Linked DNA regions of Homo sapiens: regions 1, 2 and 3 are each linked to region 4. The links are contacts of gene promoters, found by promoter capture Hi-C in blood cells and fetal thymus (Javierre and others, 2016). All regions are on one chromosome and are shown on one strand. The core of a region is centred on a gene start or on the middle of the fragment in contact, and the rest is flanking DNA. Distances in the headings are between cores, read along the strand shown.

Evidence for each region. The method cuts DNA at HindIII sites, captures the fragments that hold promoters and counts their contacts. A CHiCAGO score of 5 or more calls a contact.
Region 1: a contact is called between a fragment that was not itself captured here and the fragment with the promoter of CHD9 in region 4, in 1 of 17 cell types (neutrophils). The highest score is 6.3, in neutrophils.
Region 2: a contact is called between a fragment that was not itself captured here and the fragment with the promoter of CHD9 in region 4, in 1 of 17 cell types (neutrophils). The highest score is 5.2, in neutrophils.
Region 3: a contact is called between a fragment that was not itself captured here and the fragment with the promoter of CHD9 in region 4, in 1 of 17 cell types (neutrophils). The highest score is 5.3, in neutrophils.

Annotation. Positions count from the first base shown.
Region 1 is chr16:53,405,250-53,408,652 of GRCh38, reverse strand. No RefSeq gene overlaps it. Among named protein-coding and RNA genes, the nearest start is that of RBL2, 28 kb to the left of the region's middle. The HindIII fragment of the contact is 2,408 bases long and covers 346-2,753 here.
Region 2 is chr16:53,529,556-53,533,307 of GRCh38, reverse strand. No RefSeq gene overlaps it. Among named protein-coding and RNA genes, the nearest start is that of AKTIP, 28 kb to the right of the region's middle. The HindIII fragment of the contact is 3,655 bases long and covers 1-3,559 here.
Region 3 is chr16:53,486,641-53,490,370 of GRCh38, reverse strand. It overlaps RBL2 (RB transcriptional corepressor like 2), which reads right to left. Exons shown (of 22, transcript NM_005611.4): 22 at 1-241. The coding sequence ends at 71. Among named protein-coding and RNA genes, the nearest start is that of AKTIP, 15 kb to the left of the region's middle. The HindIII fragment of the contact is 1,885 bases long and covers 1,465-3,349 here.
Region 4 is chr16:53,053,292-53,056,587 of GRCh38, reverse strand. CHD9 (chromodomain helicase DNA binding protein 9) reads right to left here and starts at 1,597. Exons shown (of 39, transcript NM_001308319.2): 1 at 1,511-1,597. RefSeq lists enhancers at 1,210-1,259, 772-1,303. The HindIII fragment of the contact is 11,983 bases long and covers 1-3,296 here.

The DNA.
Region 1 (3,403 bases), core at 300-2,799, 350 kb before region 4:
GTAGCTGGGGTTACGGGCACCTGCCACCACACCCAGCTAATTTTTTGTACTTTTTAGTAGAGACGGGGTTTCACCATGTTGGTCAGGCTGGTCTCGAACTCCTGACCTTGTGATCCGCCCACCTCGGCCTCCCAAAGTGCTGGGCTTACAGGCTTCAGCCACCGCGCCCGGCCTTGACTTCTTAATAATCTTAGAAGGCAAATACTTAAGTCTCTTGCTATTAATTCTAACATTAGCCACAGACATCATACACATACTTTATTCAGGAAGTTCCTGTCTATTTGTAGTTGAGTGGGTTTCTTTAGATATTTTAATTACAAGTGGTGTTGAATTTTGTTCAAAGCTTTTTCTGCATCTGTTGATAAGATCATCCAGCTTTTCTTAGTCTTTTATGAGGAATATACGTATATATGTGTGTGTATATATATCCATATTTATTTGTGTGTATGTATGTATATTCTCAGCCACCTTTGCTGCTACAATGTATTAAAGGCCTTTGATAATTCCTTGTGCACTAGATCTCATCCCCTTCCACTCACTCAAATACTTTGTTTCTATAATAGTTTCCCTTTCTCTGGCATCTTCATTTTTTTCTCTTCCTGCACCATTCCAATCACCTCACAAGCATGCCATATGTACTATCTCCACCAAAACACACAGGTGTGCATGCACAAACACACACATACATATGCACCTCTCTGTATTAATCCAAGTTATCAATTTTTTACCCTACTTTCCTTTGTAGAAAAAATTATATGACTCATCTCTCAATTCTCTTGAGTCTACTCTAAGATTTTTGTCCCCACAACTCATCTGAAATCATTTTTGCCAAGGTCACAAGTGACCTCCACCTTGAGAAATCTAATGGACAATTCTTTTCCTCTTAAATTTGTTGACAGTACTTGACATGGCAAAGTTGCAAAAGCAACTCAATAGAAGAAGTATAGCCTTTTCAGTAAATGGTGATGGTGCAACTGGACATCCATAGGCCAAAGACATCCCTGTGTCTTTATCCTTCATTTGAAGGAAAGAGGACAGGGGAAACAGGATGCAGATATAATACTCTCCAAGTTTTCATACCTTCCTTCTCAGGCACTTTGCTGGGCTTGTTCTTCTTCTTTCACCCAACCTCCTAACATAAGAAAACATTAATCTTTAGTTCCTGTTAATGATCTTTCTGCTATTCATATTCGTGTTAATAAGTGATTCTATCTAGTCACAGGCATTAGTTAGATAGCATGCATATGAACAGAACACACCCCAAATTTATCATTCCTTCTCTGTATTCCATTGTTGAATTCCCACCAAAACTCAAAATGTCCACTGAAATCTCTAATTGGAACCTTATGCTTAATATGCTCCCAAACAAATTCTTGATTACAGCAATCCATTTTCACTAACATTCCCCTCCTTTAGTCCTATCCATCTCAGTTGATGTCAGCTTCTAGCTGCTGAGACAAAAATACTTAAAAATTACAATTCTTTCCACTTTCCCATACCCCTGCATAGCCAAGCCATGAAAAACTCTTATCTGCTCTAACTTTAATATATATTCCCAATCTTGCCACTTTTCATTATTTCTGACACTCGCATCCTTAACCAAGCTATAATTACCACTTGCCTGGAATAATTAGAATAGTTTCTTAATTGGTTTTTATTTACTTCTGTTCTTGCCTCCCTGCAGCCTATTCATACAGCAGCTAATGTGATCATTTAATGTAGAGCTCAGATGTAATGGCAAAATTTCTATACCACTTGGAACAAAATGCAAATGCTTGCAGGGATCCGGTGTCTATGCACTTTGATGCTCATTTCCTCTTGTGCTGCTCACTCTCCTCTATTCTGGCCTTCTGACGTTGCTTACTCTTCTCCTAGATTTTCCCTTGGCTCCTTCATTTACTTAATTCTGGTCTATGCTGAAGTATCTCTTTAAAAAGCACTTCCTAGAACACTCTAGCAAAAAAAAAAAAAAAAGCCCCTCTGGCCATACCCAGTCTCTTCACTCTGCTTTTTCTCCTTTGCACTTATTACTACCAAAAATTCTATCACATATCCACTTATTTACTTGCTTACTGTCTATTGTCTCTCATTAGAAAATATGCTTCATCTGGACGGTGGCTTTACCTGTGTAGCTTCATAACTATATTTCCTGAAGGGTTCCTGTCATACAGATGGCACTCAGATATTTACTGCATGACTAAATGAATGAATCAAAGGAGGGGCAAGAGACACAGGTGTGTTCCCATTCTCTAGTGTTTTTAAAACATACTGACACTACTTGTAAAAACAACAAAACAGCAAAAACAAGTTATAAAGAGTGTAGAAATTAGTAAATAATCATTGTGTACCCCCCTAAAAGATAAGAGTTCTTAAGGAAAGGTGGGGAACCTGTTGTACCCAAGTTATAAGAAAATGTGTCAGTGACTGTGGACAAAAGGGAAGTATGGCCTACAGCCACAATGTCTATACATTCTTATTAAATTATTAAAGTCCTGGAGTACTCAGATATATGAAGTCTTATTCAACCATGTATGAAACATACACAAAAATATTTCTGATCCTATATCGATACATCCATGAGATGGTGTTATATTTAAAATTATTGTAGAATTTCTGAATAACTAAAAAAGTCATTTGCTACATGCATATTTATGTGGATTTTTAAATATAGTTAACTAAAAAATTGGGAATTTCATGGGCAATTACACAAGTTATTCTAAAGCAAGATATTATAGTGGTAAATCTGTCAAGCTTTGGAATGAAAGTAAAAAAATGAAGTACCTCAAAGAATTTTCACTTATAATTCATAAGACATCTCTTCTTTTGAGAAGTATCTGTTCATGTCCTTTGTCCACTTTTTAATGGGATGGTTTTTTTTTTTTTTTGTAAGTTTGAAGTTCCGTATAGATGCTGGATATTAGGCCTTCACTAGATGCATAGTTTGCAAAAATTGTCTCCCATTCTGTAGGTTATCTATTTACTCTGTTGATAGTTTCTTTTGCTGTGCAGAAGCTCTTCAGTTTAATTAGATCCCATTTGTCAATGTGTACTTTTGTTGCAATTGTTTTTGACATCTTCTTCATGAATCTTTGCCCGTGCCTACGTCCTGAATGGTATTGCCTAGGTTGTCTTCCCATTATCTTTAGCAAACTAACACAGGAACAGAAAATGAAACACTGCATGTTCTCACTTATAGGTGGGAGCTAAATGATGAGAATACATGGAGAGAATAAAAAAAAATAACTAATGGGTACTAGACTTAATACCTGGATGGCGAGATAATCTGTACAACAAACCCCCATGACACATGTTACATAGGCATGTAACAAACCTCCACATGTACCCCTGAACTTAAAATAAAAGTGTATATTAAAAAGGCATATCAGCCCATGAGAAATATTTT
Region 2 (3,752 bases), core at 483-2,982, 480 kb before region 4:
TTTGGGGAATTTTTTTAAAGCTCATCAGCTATTGGTAGTGTTAGTGTATTTTTTATGTGTGAGCCAAGACAATTCTTCCAATGTGGTCCAGGGAAGCCAAAAGATTGGACACCCCAGCATTAGAGAAATACTTTAAAGGAATATAGGAGATTTGCCACTTCTCCCACATAAGTTCACATTCACATTATTCTTTTTTATTTATTTATTTATTTTTTGAGATGGAGTCTCGCTCTTGTCGCCCAGGCTGGAGTGCAGTGTCATGATCTCTGCTCATTGCAACCCCCATCTCCTGGGTTCAAGCGATTCTCCTGCCTCAGCCCCCCGAGTAGCTGGGATTACAGGCACCTGCCAATAATTTTTGTATTTTTAGTAGACATGGGGTTTTGCCATGTTGGCCAGCCAGGTCTCGAGCTCCTGACCTCAGGTGATCTGCCCGCCTCAGCTTCCCAAAGTGCTGGGATTACAGGCTTGAGCCACTGCGTCTGGCCCACATTCATTTATTCTACACAACTTCATTGAACGCCTACCAAATGCCTTGGATGCTCTGCTAGGACTGAGGGTGAGGATGAGTTAAGCAGACATATTCTCTACCCTCCTAAAACAGTCTAGAGGGAAGGGGAGGTGGCAAAAAGTGATTACAAGAACAACCTGGCTTAGTCCTGGTGGAAGGAACCTCTGAGCCACTTAACTTGGCTTTTGCACAATCGCACATAGATTTGCTCATTAAAGCCAAGTGTGGCTCATGGCATTGGCAACAGGATGGACAGTGGAGGCTTCTCAGATGCAGATCAGTATAGCTCTGAGTACCTCTTGAGAAAATGTAGCTCAGTGTCCATCACTACCCATGCACCGCTGGCGAAGCAAGGAGGGCCCCATAGATGGGGGGTCAGCCCAACAGCCTCTTACACCATTAGCATGGAAGAAGACACATTGTTTGAACAAATATATGCCTTTTTTCTTTGGCCTTTCTGAAAATGAGCCTCTCCCCAGCTGGCCAGAGGCATTGGTCATCTTCGGGGAGTGGGAGAGGTCACGCTTGTTTACAGTGGAAATGCAAGAGAAAGAATTATGCTCAGGTTTTGACATTCATAACTGGATTTTGCATGGCAAACCAGACTTGTCTTGAAGATTTCCTCCTTTTTTTTTTTTTTTTTTAAAGAAAAATGTACTCAGCATGTCAAGAGCTAGGCTAGGGAGCCTCAGTGCTTGGAGATCTCTCGTGTGGAGAAGACAGCCCTGTGTCCCTTGGGATATTCAGCCTGTTGCTCTGTGATAGAATATCATGCAGAAGAGTGGCTGTCACATATTTTTTCCATGACCCACAGCAAGACATTTGTGTGTGCACACAGACACGTACACAAAACAAATTTTAGAAAACAATTCTTAGCCTTGTTATGTGTGATATTTTCTCATTTTTAAAATTCTTTTTAAATTTGTATTAATGCTGGTCATAACCCCCTGACTTCAGTCACTCCCCCAGGAATGGGTCATGACTGGTAGCATGAAAACATTGAAAAACATTGGCAGATGCAGGAGGAGGAAGGTGAGAGAGACAGATGGGCGAGAGGTGAAGCTGGATGTGTGTCCTGACCTCTCTCCTTCACATCTTGGCTGGGAAAGGTGTAAGATAAAGGAATAAGAGGAGGCTAAAGGAAGAGGTTATCTCTGCCCCAATTCCCCTTAAGAACCTGGAAATAGATCCCCTGCTCGCTCTCCATCCAACTGGATGAGCAAAGTAGGGTGGGTAGTCGTGGTCCGGCAGAGGAGCTGCATGGGCTTTCTGAGCTGCCTTCCCCTCCCTCGAGGTGTGGACACAACCCAGGCACTTCCCTCTCAGAACAGGCCAGGAGACTCCACAGCAGATGAGGGAGGCCTAATGAGGCCAGAAGGCTGGGGGAGGGCAAGGCTGAGCCAGGCCCAGAGAGTGACCAGGCCGAGGGAGACCAGAGCATGAGTTCACCTGTTTAAGATGCCAGCGAGGTCAGTAGTAACCAGCAGACAAGGACACCTTCCACAAGAGCCAGGCACCTACAGCAGCACCCCCACGTCCCACCTCATTTACTCCAGCGCTGCCTCAGAGAGGAGCTTAGAAGCCAGAGTACCCGAATTATTTTCCCAAAAGAGGTAGAAAATCACCTAGAGAAGCTGTTAGTATTATTGTATAGGCTGGAGTGAGTTCAGCCTTTTTCTTCCCTCTTGTTTTGTACCAAATTGGCATTCATAAAGACTCAGTTCTAGGTAAAATAGCCATGTATCTATGCCCTGAGTCAGCCAGTGGAGTGCTGTTAAAATGTTTAAAAACAAGCTGTTAAATCAGCTTGAGGAGTCCTGATTTATAGTGCTTGCCAATTTCCATGGTGTAAATACTCCTGCTATGGCCAATTTCCGTGGTGTAACTCCACCCACCATGGCCAATTTCCATGGTGTAACTACTCCCACCAATTTCAAGCTACTGTAGAGGCCACTGGTTGCAGAGTTATCTTAAATGAGGCACAGTGGGCTCTGAGCCTGGACAAGCTGACTCTAGCCACTAGGCTCCCTGGCCACCCAGTCTCAGTAGGCAAGACTTCTGAATGTGCCCATGAGTCTGAGGGCCAGATCAACTTTCCAGCATAAATACTGCTTTCTCTCACACTGGTTTCACTTACTCTATGGAAATGGCTCTCTGCTTTGCGTGAACAGAACCTCATTGTGGACAAGTAGACTGCCCTTGTCTCCATTTTCTTCTTCAAGCCCCTCTTCCAGGAAAATTCTCAGGGTCTGTCTACCCACCCAGGACAATCTTTTGCGTGAGCCAGCCTGACTGACAGAATCGGAGCAAACCACCCCCTGAAGGGAGCTCCAGAGGTCATTGTGGCCAGCCCCCTGCCTCTAGGCAGATCTCCCCCTAAATCGTACTAGACAGAGCCTTCCTCGTCCTGGGCCATTTGCTCGGAGCTCCCTGAGCAGCTGAGTAAAGTTTTGTGCTGACTCCGTGGAGCTCTGACGACGGCAGGCGCTCCCGCAGCTCATAAGGGAATCATTAGTGAGATGTAGCCCTGAATGAGGGCCTGAAGGCCTGTGGCAATTAATCACCTTTCCTCACTCAGCAGCACCAGCTGTCTCAGATGCAGCCATCCTAGAGGTAGCCCTTTAATTGTCCCCGGAGAAGGCAGGTGGGTGAGGGGCCACCTGTGCTAGCGTTAGCCAGCAATCCTTCCAAATTAAAAAAAAAAGAATTTTTTTTTAGAGTATTCAAATATTTCTTCCTTACTTTCTAGAATCTGTTATTGGTATAAAGGTTGAAGCTCAGGCAGCTTAACTGTTACGTGGAATGACCTTTAGTTTTAATATTAATATATTATCGTAAAGTCTATGTGAATCATGAATGCAATTTTGGTATTCATATAAAATGCCACGCGCTGAACCCATTGCAACTTTTTTTTCCCCTCTCGTCCTCCAGTAGGCTGCAAACTGGGTGAATTAATATGCGTCATATTCCTCTCCCCTTTATTTACTTAGAGAGGGTGGCCAGGCAACTTTATCAAGAGTAACATTATCAAGAGCTTTGCTGCAAGCTTCTGTATCATATTCACATCCGCGTCTGCTCGACACTTGTCAGTGTCAATCAAATCGCAATAATACGCAGATGATTTGCTCATTTGGTTTAATAAAATCTTTCTGCTTATTTGCGCTGCCTCCATTACACCACATAATTGCTGTGCCGCGGAGGTGAAAGGCAGCCAGTTGCCTGGGGGATAAGAGGAGCCGAT
Region 3 (3,730 bases), core at 1,158-3,657, 430 kb before region 4:
CCATAATCTAGATGCATTAAAGGCTGCTGCTAAACAGATTTTGTGAAGAGTTTAATACAAGAGACTAACCTCAGTGGGAACCACGGTCATTAGCTACATCTTGGAGACGGCGTAATAAGGCAGAATGATTTTCTGGGCAAATTCTTTTTGCAGGTGATTCACTTCCATCTTCCAAAAGAATTCCTCTCTTTTTAGTAGGAGTTTCTCCTGTGCGTATCATACTATTAATTTCTCTCAGTCTCTATGGTGGGAAAAAGATACAAAAATTTTAAAATGCAAATGCACATAGCTCAGTATTAAGTCAAAGAATCTCAAATGAGTTAAGCAGTTTACCCTGGAAGAGTTTGAACACATCTACAGAGAAAAGAAACACTAAGTTACATAACCTGCCAACTTTACTTTTCAGCTGGCTGAGGCCGATGGCTATTTGAGAAGGGGCTGAGTAGTTCTATTTTTAACAAGCTCTTCCACAGGCACTTTTGACCTGTAGGTCAATTATACATGTCTATAATTTGTGAGTTCACAAATTTGTGATTTTTTTTACAATTAGGGAGCATTACATTGCTATCTGATAGTCACTTAGACACATCTTTTTCTCTTTTTTAAAGTACAACTTTATACAATATTCCCTTTTTTTCAGTCTAATGTTACTCAGTTTTTAGCAGCCATTCTCAACTGGGATTTCACTAGAAAAGTAGGCCTTAATCCCCCCCTAAGGTATCCATTGTAGCTAATAAATTAGTAAGATCTAGAATGGTACTATCCTTGGGAGAATTGAGGATTAAAGTTACTCAAATTATTTTCTGGACAGTGGCTCAGATGAGGAGCTGCAATTGAGAAAGACACTGCCAGAATGTCAGAAAGACTGGGGCTGGCTGTACAGCACCTTTAGCATTCAGTTTCTCCAAAGCCTCTAAAAGTCGTCTGTCACATTATTTTCTGCTAGTTTGTTGGTTAAAATTCTTTTTCATGTGCTGCTTCATCCATGTTTGCTTACAGAAAGCATACTAAGCAAATTCACAGATATCTATTATAGGAAATTGTAAACATACAAAAGTAGAGAAGCATAATGCATCCTCACATACCTATTCCTCTACTTCAGCATGTTTGGCCAGCCTTGTTTGATTTATACTCTGATTCACTTCCATTCCCCAGATTATTTTAAAACAAATCCCAGACATATTTTATCATGACACTTGTTATTTTTATTCTTTAAAGTAATAAATGTTTTGGGGGTTTTAATGAAAATCAGTGTTCTTTATTATCAACAGATGTACCTTCACAAGTGTTTTTCATTTTTTTTTTTTTTTTAATTAACAATAGAAATGGGGTTGCACTATGTTGTCCAAGCTGGTCTTGAATTCCTGGGCTCAAGCAATCCTCCTGCTTTGGCCTCCTAATGTGCTGGGAACAGGCATGAGCCACTGCACCTGGCCACAAAATCTTAAGCATCTGAAGAAAGCTTTCCTTCAATTCTTTTTCTAGCCCCCTTTCTGCCTTCCTAAGAGTCTGGTCTGCATTTGCTATCTCTGCAGTCTCCCATTTGCTTGAATATTTCTTACACTGTTTACTGTATACATTGTTAATTGTGTATAAGCAATGCTACCATAATTTATTTTTCAACAAGTCATACCAGTGCACTGACACTGCTCTGTCAAGTATCACTAATGATCAGTCTTCATCTTAACTGATCTTGTATAGTATTTGATAATTATTTTCTCATAGTAGTCTAAATGTTAGTACGTTATAGATTGGTTCTAGACATAAGCTACTTCTTGCTTTGTAATATTCTCCCCCTTCTTGCTTTGTAATATTCTCCCCGTAAGTTTCAGCTATCACCTATTACGTCAAGATGACAAATCTTTCTCCAACCAAGAGTCTAATAATCGCTATCATTTTACTGGACAGACTCCCAATTCTGTGCTAGAAATACCTACAGTCGGATAAAACTGTTCCTCTGAAAAAATCCCTCATACTCCCTTGTCAGCCTATCCCAAACCACCACTGATGTTCTTGTCCAATAGTTTTGCCTTTTCCACAATGTCACAGAAATGGAATCATAAGTAGCCTACTGAATCCAGTGTCTTTCACTTAAGCATTGATGCATTTGAGATTTATCTACATTGAATATATCAGTTCCTTTTTATTGCAAAGTAGCAGTCGATTGTCTGGATGCACCACAGCTTATTTATATGCATTCACCAGCTGAAGGACGTTTGGGTTGTTTCCCACTTTTTGGCAATTAGGAAGAAAGTCACTATAAACAGTCATGTACGTGATTTTGTCTAAACATAAGTTTCCATTTCATTTGTGTAAATACCTAGGAATGAGATTGCTGGTTGTATAATGGTATGTTTAAGAAACAACTTTCCACAGTGGCGATGCCATTTTGCGTTCACACCAGCAATATGTAAAATTGTTCCACATTGTTGTCAGAACTTACGATTTGTCACTTTTTGGATTTTAGCCATTCTAACAGGCATGTAATGGGTGAAGTGTGTTCAAATCTTTTGCCCACTTTTACATTTGGTGGTTTTCCTACTGAATTTTGAGAATTCTTTAGATACTGTAGATATACAAATGCTTCATCAGATATGGAACGTGTACAGATTTTCTAATAGTCTATGGCTGGTTTTTTAATTCTCTTAACAGTGTCTCAAATAGCAGAAATTATTCATTTTGATAAAATCCATTTTAACAGTATTTTACGGATTGTGCTTTTGATGTTGTATATAAAATTTTCCCATAAAACATGTTCACTAAGATTTTCTGTTGTCTTCTAGAGGTTTTGTAGTTTGAGATTTTACATTTATGTCTGTGGTTCATTTTTAGTTTTTGTATATAGTGCAGGGTATGGGAACAAGTTTACTATTATTTTGTTATATGCACATCCAATTGTTCCAGCACCATCTGTTGAAAAGGCTATCCTTTCTCTACCAAATTGCCTTTGCACCTTTGTTGAAAATCAGTTTACCATACATGTGTTGTCTATTTCAGGACTCTGTTCTGTTCTATTGATCTCTGTGTCTATACTTCCACCAACACTACTGTCTTGATTACTGTGGTGTTATAATACAGATATTTTGTGTACCTTCATAATTAGTGTGAATCCTCCACCTTTGAATTATTTTAGCTATTCGAGTTCTTTGCCTTGTAAATGACAAATTTTAGAATCAGTTTTTTACATAAATCTGTTTGGATTTTGACTGAAATTGGTTTGAAATTATAGATCAATTGGGAGAAAACTGCTGTTTTATTTTCCATGAATTGGAAACTAAGGTATTATTTTCATTCAATGTCATGAACACATTTCTGTATCTTCTCAGGCTTTAATTTCTCTCACCAAGCTTCTATAGTTTTCAGGATATATGTGTTGCATAGTTTTTATCATACCTACCCCTAAGTAATTTTAAAATGTTATGGTATTCAATTTTTTATTTTACTTCTGATTGTTCACTGCTAGCATATAGAAATACATTTGATTTTTGTATGTTGATCACATAACCTCCCTTATTAGTTCCAGTAGCTTTTTGTGGATTCTTTGTGATTTTCCTATGTAGACAATCCAGGCTGTATGGCTTTTCTTGTCTTATTGCACATGCTAGGACTCCCAGTTACAATGTTGAACAGGGGTAGTGAGAGTGGACATTGTTGCCTTGTTCTTGATCACAGGGGCAAGGCATTCAGTCTATCACCATTAAGTATGATATCTGTAGATGCTTTTGGTAAA
Region 4 (3,296 bases), core at 348-2,847:
TGCACCTGAGCTCAAGAGCAGACTGCCTGGGTTCAAATATGGGACATGCTTCTTATTAATTAATTATATAACTTCGAGCAAGATCATTGGCCTCTCTGAGCCTCAGTTTCCTTGGCTATCAAATGCAGTATTCATAGTTCTACCGTGGAAGTTATGGTCAGGAGTCTAACTTGGCCCTGCACAGAAAGCCTCTAGCATAGGGTGAACCCTTAGTAAACAGTAGCTTTTATTGTGAATAATTCCCAAGGCAACCCGATTTTCACACCCATTTTGCAGATACAAAAACTGAAGCTGAGGATGGTTCAGTGAGTTTCCAAGGTCACAAAGGAAGGGCTGCCTATGGGGGGGAATCTATGCCCATGTTAGTAACACTGCTGTTATATAAACATAAGGGGTCAGCGGGGCGCAGCGGCTCATGCCTATAATCCCAGCACTTTGGGAGGCCGAGGCTGGAGAATGGCTTGAGCCTAGGAGTTTGAGACCATCCTGGGGAATATAGTGAGGCCCTATCTCTATAAAACAAACAAACATAAGGGCTCATTTTTACTAGTTGTAAAAGGGCCCTTTTACTAGTTGTAAAAAAGGCTCGTTATAAGGCCTCTCACTGCCTAATCAGCTAGGTTTGCCAAAATGAGGAAGACAGCTCCAGCCAGTCTCCTGATCTTCTCTGGGATCAGGGTGGGGAGGAACCCCCTTCCTACCCATAAACCCCTAAGAGTCTTCGCTCACATTCCACACTGGTGTCTTTCTGTTCCTTGTCCACTTTCGAGTTCAACCCTTTCAGAACCAGCCCTACTGTGGGGGGTGGGGGATGGTTAGTTTGTTATCTTGGGTTTGACAGTACAAAGGCAGAGGCATTTCCTGCTTAAAAGGCACATGAGAAAGGAGGAGGAGGGCGAACTGGAGGAATAGGAGGAGGAGGGAATCATCAGCATTCTGGGTTAGAACAAACAAATGTCCTCCGTTTTTCTCCAACTCCTTAGATCAAGGGTCCTCAAATTTGGCTGCCAGCTGGAATCTCTTGCAAACATTTTAATACCCAGATGTCCAGTCCCCCACCCAGACCAATCACATCTGAGTCTCTGGGGGGGGGCGGGGGTGGAACTAGGGCATCGGTATTTTTTTAATGCTTCCCAAGCAACGCCAACGGGCAGACAAGTTTAAGAAGTGGTGCTCTGGACCTTATCAGCACTCGGCTGCCACCCTGGAGTGGCTCTGGGCGACAGTGGCTGCTTTCCGCTTCGAGGACGCCCGGCTTGGGGATTCGGGCATGCTCTGGGAGGCGAGGGCTGGGGAGGATGCGAGCGTGCCAGCGACCTGGTGCTCTGCCTTGCTCTAGGCCCAGCTCCGAGGCTGCGGGTCTCTGGGTCCCCCCCACGGCTACAACACGTGCTGCCGCCCCGACTCCTCCGGTTATCTCTGCAGACCGCAAGCGGTGCCCAGCGGCCGCCCCGCTGTCCACCCCGACCTCAGAGGCTCCAGGGAGACGCCCGGGGCTCAGGAATCCTACCTTGGCTGCCGGCGCTGCCCTCCAGTCCCCGGAATCCTGGGACTCAGGTTCGAGCTGTCGCTGTCGCTGTCGCTGCGCCTGTGAAGCGCCCACTAGAGCGCAGGCGCCACCTAGTGGGCGCGGGGCGGCTGCGCAGGGACCGCGCTGGCAGGCGGGAGCGCAGTCCAGGGCGGAAATGCAGCCAGGGCTTCTTCCCACGTGGGCGGTTTTCCAGCGCGCCGCCAGCCCTGTGGCCAGATCCGGCCTGGGGCGGGACCACCTTCACCCGCTGCGGGGCACTGGGATCTAAACTTGGTGAACTTTCTCTTGGGGCACGGAGGGACCCCTCGGCCTGGTATCCATCCTCCGGTTTTCCGGGCTGAGCACAAGGATCTTTCCCTTCATCCAGCAGCTTTCAGTGCACCCCACCTTTGGCACTGCTTCTCTTTTAAATGTGCTGGGACCATCCGAGGCTGGGGTTCTCTCCAACCCAGGGAGGCCCTTCGCCTATCAGCAACCATTTTTTCCTGCCACCCCCTAAACCGTCCCTGAATGAGAGAAACAGCCTGCTCTGCTGGCTTGCTCTACAGAGGCCAGGACTGGTGGAGGATGGGTGTGTGCCAGCGACCTCGTGCTCTGCTCTGCTGGAAGGCCTTCTCTGAGCAGTGGAAGGGGAAGGGGCGGCTTAAGGGAATTGTGTTTTTTGTTTTTTGTTTTGTTTTGTTTTGTTTTTGTAGAGACAAGGTCTCTCTATGTTGCCCTGGTGGCTCTTGAACTCCTGGTCTCAAGCGATCCTCTCACCTGCAGCCTCCCAAAGCACTGGGATTACCGGAGTAAACTATGGCTCCCAGCTGCCTGGTATTCTTTCAATGAAGACATGCCAAAACGCTTACAAATATGGTGGACATTTAATGGTTTATATTTCATTTATGTCTTCATTTAACAACGATTAACTGAGCACCTACTATGTGCCACTTTTCTACAATCAAGGGATACAATGAAGAACAAAACACAAAAATCTCTGCTTTTGTTGAATTCACATTTAATGTAACACATGAATACTTTTAACACACCCAACGATCTAATGCAAAGCGATTGAGCTCGTTGTGAGATAAGTAGAGGATTTATTAAAAATATCTATATTTAGGGCCAGGCACCGTAGCTCACGCCTGTAATCCCAGCACTTTGGAAGGCTGAGGCAAGAGGATCGCTTGAGGTCAGGAGTTTGAGACCAGCCTAGCCAACATGGCAAAACCCAGTCTCTACAAAAAATACAAAAATTAGCCGGGCGTGGTGGCAGGAGCCTGTAATCCCAACTACTCCAAGGCTGAGGTGGGAGAATCCCTTGAACCCGGAAGGAGGAGGTTGCAGTGAGCTGAGATCGCACCACTGCACTCCAGCCTGGGTGACAGAGTGAGACTCTGCCTCAAAATCAATCAATCAATCAATCAATCAATCTATGTTTAGGGCGCCAAGGGCAGACATTCCTGGTGATGGATATAAGCATTACAGAGTTCTATGGGAACGTCTTCACGTTTTCTTGTAATCCTGGCAGTTTATCTCTGTGGCAACATTTGGAGATAATGCCTTCAGTGGAAATTTCAGGTGATTTGTGAAAGTTAGGCCTGCAATCCTCCTTTCCCCCTCCCCCCGGCCCCCACTCTGCTCCCCCAGGACGCTCTGTCATTGTTCTAGCCCAGTGTGAGTTTGTGTGTGAGTGTGTGCCTATTTAACCTTTGGACTCTCTGTACTGGTGTAATCTGGTCAAAGTGAATATCAAGGGCAGAGGAGGACAAGGAGGAGCAGG